2 separate regions of the Homo sapiens genome follow, and region 2 is linked to region 1. The links are contacts of gene promoters, found by promoter capture Hi-C in blood cells and fetal thymus (Javierre and others, 2016). All regions are on one chromosome and are shown on one strand. The core of a region is centred on a gene start or on the middle of the fragment in contact, and the rest is flanking DNA. Distances in the headings are between cores, read along the strand shown. Region 1 holds the start of MED10 (mediator complex subunit 10). Region 2 overlaps MTRR (5-methyltetrahydrofolate-homocysteine methyltransferase reductase).

Region 1 (3,314 bases), core at 247-2,746:
CAGGCTGTGCCTACCACACAGCAGGCACTCGAATGCCAGTGATGAAGAAGTCACGATACCACACCATAACTGAACAAGATTTATACCCAAGACTAATATCAAGAATGTTACTTACTCAAAAACTTCTAACGGTACAGTAATATCATGAAGCTGCTGTCTGCACTTGTCAATATCCTGTAAGCCAGTAACAATAAAATTCCTGGGGGAAAGGCAAACACACAGGCATCTGGTTAATTTCGCTTGACAGCATAAGCACCACCCACAGAGCTACCCAGCCAACCGGGGCTCCACGCAAGTTCGTTCTCCTCACAGCTATGCGGGTTACACACGGTTCTGACCTCTTTGGTTAGCTACAGGATTCCTAGGACACCGTTAGAGTTACAAAATACCCTTAAATATTTGTTACTTTCCTTCTCAACTAGAAATTGCCAGTAAGGGGGATGGAGAGGGAACCTGATGAAAAATATGAACCTTCTCTCAAAAACAATTACCTGACTGTGCATATGACTGTGTGTGCGGTTTCAGCGAACACATGAGGCAGCGGACTATACTCAAAGTCTGAGGGAAAGAAAGCCATACTGTCTGGTTTAGCTTCCTCTCCTCTCTGGAGCCTTCCTACAGCATCAGGCTGGTCTGGCTATTCCCACAGCACTAGGTATGGAACCTCGAGTGCAACATTTTCTATGTCCGTGCCACATATAAAGCCCTTCTCGAAAGTGCTGTACTTGCATTTGCCTTTTCTCCAACCCAGGGCCTAGCAACATGGGCAGCACAAGGCTGTTGCCAAGAAATAATAATAATAAACGTTCTGCAACCTTTCTCAGCACCACCTCCCCGCTATTTCCTCCACTGTCAGGCCTATGCGGCAGGTGGCTTCGGAGCCTCACCTTCTGAGGCCTAGTTTAGGGCGTGCACTCACTGTGGAGCCTGCCTCCCCTCTGGAGACAGGGACTGAATTCCCAGAAGGGCTCCAGGAGGAAAAGGCTGGGAGGGGGTTACACATGAGAGGGGAGACGCTAGAAGAGAAAGCATGATTCCCTTGATAGGGAAACGTAAAGTATATCATCTGGCCATGACGACGTCTCCAAAGGGGCCTCAAAGAGGTTGGCTCTTGGCAACAGGCTGGAGCGCGGGCCCCGCCCTCTGAACACAGCCAGGAAAGGCGCCCCGGGCTCCGGGACCAGACCAGAGGGCTGGCGGGGCACGAGTAGCGGTCAGGCTCGGCTCGGGCTCCCTAGATCCCCGCTCCCCTAGCACACGCTTCCCGGCCAGGCCCTGGGGAGACCCCGGCAGCCTCGGGCCGCCACTCACAGCTTTTGGTTGAGCCCGGCCTGGCTGCTGGGCTGGAAGTCACTGACGATGATGCCGAGCTGCCGAATGTTCTCCACGAACTTCTCCAGGTGCTCCTCTAGGTGGTCAAACTTCTCCGCCATCGCCTCGGCCCGTCCCCGACCCACACAGCCTCAACCAGCAGCGCCGCAGGCGTGGCCCTACGCTCCCGCTTCCTGCTTCCGTCCGGACAGATACGACTTCCGTTTCCTCTGGGGGAGCGCGGGCGAGCTCTTGGGGGCGGAGCCTCGTTATCGGGACGGGCGTGTTGGGGCGGGGCCTAAGTGCGGGGCAGGGCGGGCTTTCGGGGATGCGGTCTGGATTCTGGAGGAGGCCTCGGCGCGCAGCTGGGCGAGTACTAACTGTTTGCACTCTCATCAGACCTGCCTCGGTCATGGGAGAAGTTGAAGACTTTCTGCAATGCAGCATCTTCAAGCAATACACACATGGATGAAAATCCTAAAGTTTGCATGAAGGACCAATAACGGTAGTTTCCCTGCCCCTCTACCAGAACCCCTGGGATCAGCGCCTGCCTGCCTCCTTTCTTCTATGTAATCGGCGGCCACCTCCCCTAGCTCTTGCTGCTAACCATGCTTCCCGGACACCTGCTGCCTTCGTAGGTCAGGGTCTCACCTCCTCGGGCCAATTCTGACCAAACAGCACCCTGTGGGGTTGCCCTGTCTTAGTAAACTGCTGTTTATCTCATTGAAATTCAGTTTAGGTCATTTCACTCTTATGTTTAAGAAACTTTTCTGCCCGATCTCCTATGATAGCGGATATCTCCTCTAGCCTGTTTGAATTTCTCAAGTGATTTATTTTACTGAATATATTTGTGGCCTGTACTTTTCAGTGCCTAGAAACAGGCAAAGTGAGGGAGCTCCTTTGCTAGATGATCTTCAGAGCCTCTCCCAGCTGTGACCAGAAATGGAAAGCCAGAGAAGGTAAGTGACTTGCCAAACTTATGGAATCAGGGCACTCCAGTTGGTGGGCTGGGCTGATAAACAGAAATGTTACATAAAATACTTCTCTCCTGATTTAACAACAATTAACTTTAGGGAATTATAAAACAAGATGGAGGCTGGGCGTGGTGGCTCAGGCCTGTAATCCCAGAACTTTGGAAGGCCAAGGCAGGTGGATTACCTGAGGTGAGGAGTTCGAGACCGACCTGACCAATATGGAGAAACCCTGTCTCTACTAAAAATACAAAAATTAGTCAGACATGGTGGTGTGCGCCTGTAGTCCCAGCTACTTGGGAGGCTGAGACAGGAGAATTGCTTGAACCCAGGAGGCAGAGGTTGCAGTAAGCCGAGATCATGCCACTGCACTCCAGCCTGGGCAACAGAGCAAGACTCAAAAAAAAAAAAAAAAGGTGGAAATAAAATATTAGACAAATAAAAAATTTTAAGTTATTAGGTAGAGGTAGCGACATGGAGTGAACGGCCTTTCTCAATTTCATAAGTAAGAAAGATAGATAATTGATGGAACTTAGGCTTTGGTAAGTATTTATTTTAAAAATTTAAGGGTATCTCTTTGCTAGTATATATAATTCCCAAACTAGTAGACAGGGGGAAGGGAATAAAGAAAACACAATCAACTCAATAGAAGGCAAGAAAAGAAGAGAATAAAGAAGCAAAGAACAAGCATGGAAAATAAAACTCACAACGTAAAGTGCAAAAATTAAAGGCACACGACTCAACAGCAAAAAAGCAAAAGAAGAAATTTATAAATGGGCAAAGGACCTGAACAGATACTTCTCAAAAGAAGACATAAAAATGACCAGCAAAAATGCTCAGCATCACATATCATCAGGGAAATACAAATTAAAAGCATAATGAGATGTCACCTTACACTGTTAGAAGGGCTATAATCAAAAAGACCAAAGACAATGGGTGTGGGTGAAAATGTGGAGGAAAGGGAACCCTTGTACACTGTTGATGGGAATGTAAATTAGTGCAGCCTTTATGGAAAATAGAATGGAAGTTTCC
Region 2 (3,355 bases), core at 856-3,355, 1.5 Mb after region 1:
ATTGTCAGCACTGCCATAGCCTTTGCAGAAGGCAGTCTTCTTAGGGGTACATCTCAGTACCCCCACATTATGGCTCCCAGACACCCAGAACTGACCTTCATCCCAGCTTTCCCATATAGCCACTTATCCACAGTTAATTGACTAGTACTGTTAAAATATTTTGTTTTTAAACTTAGGAATATAGAAAAGGAGTAGGGAGTATTATAAAGAACTGGGATTTTTTGCAGTTTTCCAAGACCTACTGTGTCCAGTACAGGAGCTGCTGGCCACATATAGCTACTCAAATTTAAATTAATGAACATTTGTTAAGATTAATAATTAGTTTCTTAGTGACACTACCTGTATTTCACCAGCCATATTTCAGCAGCCATATGAACAGCATTGCCCCACACTAGGGGGTTCCTGTGACCATCTACACACATGTTGCATTCTTAAACATCTGTCACATTCTTCAAGATCTCTCCTTCCTGAAACATTTGCAGACATTCTGTTTCCCTTGACGTAGTTTATTAGGAAAACTACTAGATCTTTACATGAACATGCCAGTATTTTTATTTTCTATTTGTATTTCAGAAATTCTAATGTCTAATAGATAAAGCGTTTGAGATAGAATTGAGCTTCTCTTCTGAAAAGCTAGCTCCATATATCTGCCCTCATTCATTTACCTTGGAAATGAATACTGAGTAGCCAGGAAGTTTTGTAAGCCCCTGTGGATCTTGCGTAGTCACTAATTGAAAGAAGGGTATAATTGAAAATTGCACTTACGTTTTGTCACATTTGTTTTTCAAGGAGGAAAGCCAAGTATCTGTGACTTCAGCAGATCCAGTTTTTCAAGTGCCAATTTCAAAGGCAGTTCAACTTACTACGAATGATGCCATAAAAACCACTCTGCTGGTAGAATTGGACATTTCAGTAAGTTGCAAAATTTATTTCTCAGCACAGTAATATTGTCAGGATGTGCAGAAAGAGTTGTGTGGTGCTTGGTTATATATGCTGAGTGGTGTGCTGCTTGGTTACATATGCTGAGTTGTGTGCGGCTTGGTTACATGTGCTGAGTTGTGTGGTGCTTGGTTACATATGCTGAGTTGTGTGGTGCTTGGTTACATATGCTGAGTTGTGTGGTGCTTGGTTACATATGCTGAGTTGTGTGGTGCTTGGTTACATATGCTGAGTTGTGTGGTGCTTGGTTACATATGCTGAGTTGTGTGGTGCTTGGTTATGTATGCTGAGTTGTGTGGTGCTTGGTTATACATGCTCAGAAGAATGAGAGGTCTCTGACAGGACATCTTGCCATTTTATTCCTGACCCATCATTTTTTTCTCTCTTCTATTTTCACACCTATTTTCTTTCCACTTCAGGGAAGGACTAGGGAAGAATGGCTGGAGGAGATTCAGCCTGAGAGGAAGATGCTGGCTTACTCAATAAGCCATGAAAGAATAATGGGATCAGAACAGCATTTTATATATAAGAGGCCCAGGAAAGGAAGCTGTCCACTAAGGTCAGCCAGGAAGTTAGAAATAGAGCCTAAGGTCAAACGAGGTGGCTCTCGCCTATAATCCCAGCACTTTGGGAGGCTGAAGGCGGTCACTTGAACCCAGGAGTTCCTGGGTAACATGGCAAGACCTTGTCTCTACAAAAAAATACAATAAGTAGCTGGGCATGGTGGTGTGTACCGATGGTCCCAGCTACTTGGGAGGCTGAGGTGGGAGGACTGCTTGAGCCTGGGAGGTTGAGACTACAGTGGGCTGTAATTGTGCCACTGCACTCCAGCCTGGGTGACAGAGTGAGACCCTGCCTCAATTTTTTTAAAAAAAGAAAAGAAATAGAACCCAGACAGGCAGGTTAGGGTTAATTCCTCAGAGCAGTGGTTTTGATTTCTTGAGAATCTGGAAAAAATTATGGACTCTCCCAAAAAATGATTACACTTGTCCCTTAGTATCTTCGAAGGATTTGTCCCAGGACCCCTTTCAGATACCCAAATCCTCAAAGCTCAAGTCCCTTATGTAAAATGTTACAGTATTTGTATATAATCTATGCACATCCTCCCCTACACTTTAAGTCATCTGTAGATTACTTACAGTATCTAACACCACGTAAGTAGTTGCTATACTGTATTTTTAAGTTTACATTATTTTTATTGTTATTTTTTATTGTTTTTTTCCGTCCCAAATATTTTCCATTCAGGTTTGGTTGATTCTGAGGGTGGAGAACCTGAGGATATGGAGGGCCAACTGTATATAGAAACATTTACGTACAGTTTTAGTCTGAGATGTGCCTCGATGCACCCCCTCCATGGGCCCCCTTCCTACCCTCCACACCCTGCTGGAATCCATTGACCTTAGGTTAAGAAACTGACTGATAATCCTAAAATAAGTGTTTGAGTACCTCTTCAAAGTCATTTAGCTCAACCGTTTATTTTATGAAAGTCTTGAGAGGTTAAGTGGGTTATTCTTTCAGAAAAGCAAGGGCACATTAAGGCTGTTGGTGTAGATTTAATCAAACTTCCTAACAGAAAAAAATACAATGTGTCAAAACTAGATGGTTTTGCATCCATAAATATTAATACTATGTACACCAAAATATTTTTTATTCTGGTATTTTACATTTTTGTCATAAAGAGGCAAGGGTTGGTCTGTGCTTAGTCCAGTCTCTCTCCCTTGCTGGCAAGAAATGTGAGCTTGTGTCATTGTGAGAGGCTCCTCCCCAGAGCCCTGGCCTGCATCTGTATCACTCTGGGGCTTAGAGGCAATGGGCCTAGTAATAGACTTGACTTGGGAAGTGGTGACTTTTTCAGCCCATGTTTGCTCACAACCAGTATCGAGCCAGATAGTGTAATGTTTTATACTTAAGGAAATAAAGTACCCTTTCCTGTCCCCTAAAGGAAAAGAGTAAAGTAAGGAGAAGAAAATTGAAAACCAATGCATTTGACCATAATTAGTTTCTTTTGGTCATAATGTATGTTTTCGTGTGTGTGTGCATGTATGTTTTTGTAAGAGGGATTTTTATATTTACATGGGTTATTGAAAACACCATAGGACCTTACTTTGTAGAGAACAAGGAAGGTCTGACTTCCATTCTTTAAGTATGATAAAAGGCAAAACACTGGGTAACTACCAGATTTCGTTTTAATAGTAACTGCTAATAATGAAAGTATGTTTATTTGGTTAGTTGGGCTTATTTTTTAAAACAATTGTGTGTTTTTTTTTTTGAAATTCTATTTTCTGAGTTCACATATTAAAATCATAATATTGAAAACTATATTTTTGTTACCCTACAGCTTAAACTATGTAACACGTATAATGTATTTTTTTTTTTTCATTTTGGCTCTTCTCTAGAATACAGACTTTTCCTATCA

The links. Contacts are between HindIII fragments. The CHiCAGO score rates a contact against its expected background, and 5 or more counts as called.
Region 2: a contact is called between a fragment that was not itself captured here and the fragment with the promoter of MED10 in region 1, in 1 of 17 cell types (non-activated CD4 T cells). The highest score is 5.4, in non-activated CD4 T cells.

Annotation. Positions count from the first base shown.
Region 1 is chr5:6,377,051-6,380,364 of GRCh38, forward strand. MED10 (mediator complex subunit 10) reads right to left here and starts at 1,497. Exons shown (of 4, transcript NM_032286.3): 1 at 1,312-1,497; 2 at 116-199. The coding sequence starts at 1,433. RefSeq lists enhancers at 1,232-1,441, 1,732-1,951. The HindIII fragment of the contact is 6,030 bases long and covers 1-3,314 here.
Region 2 is chr5:7,882,366-7,885,720 of GRCh38, forward strand. It overlaps MTRR (5-methyltetrahydrofolate-homocysteine methyltransferase reductase), which reads left to right. Exons shown (of 15, transcript NM_002454.3): 6 at 790-912; 7 at 3,336-3,355. Among named protein-coding and RNA genes, the nearest start is that of MTRR, 15 kb to the left of the region's middle. The HindIII fragment of the contact is 5,453 bases long and covers 1-3,355 here.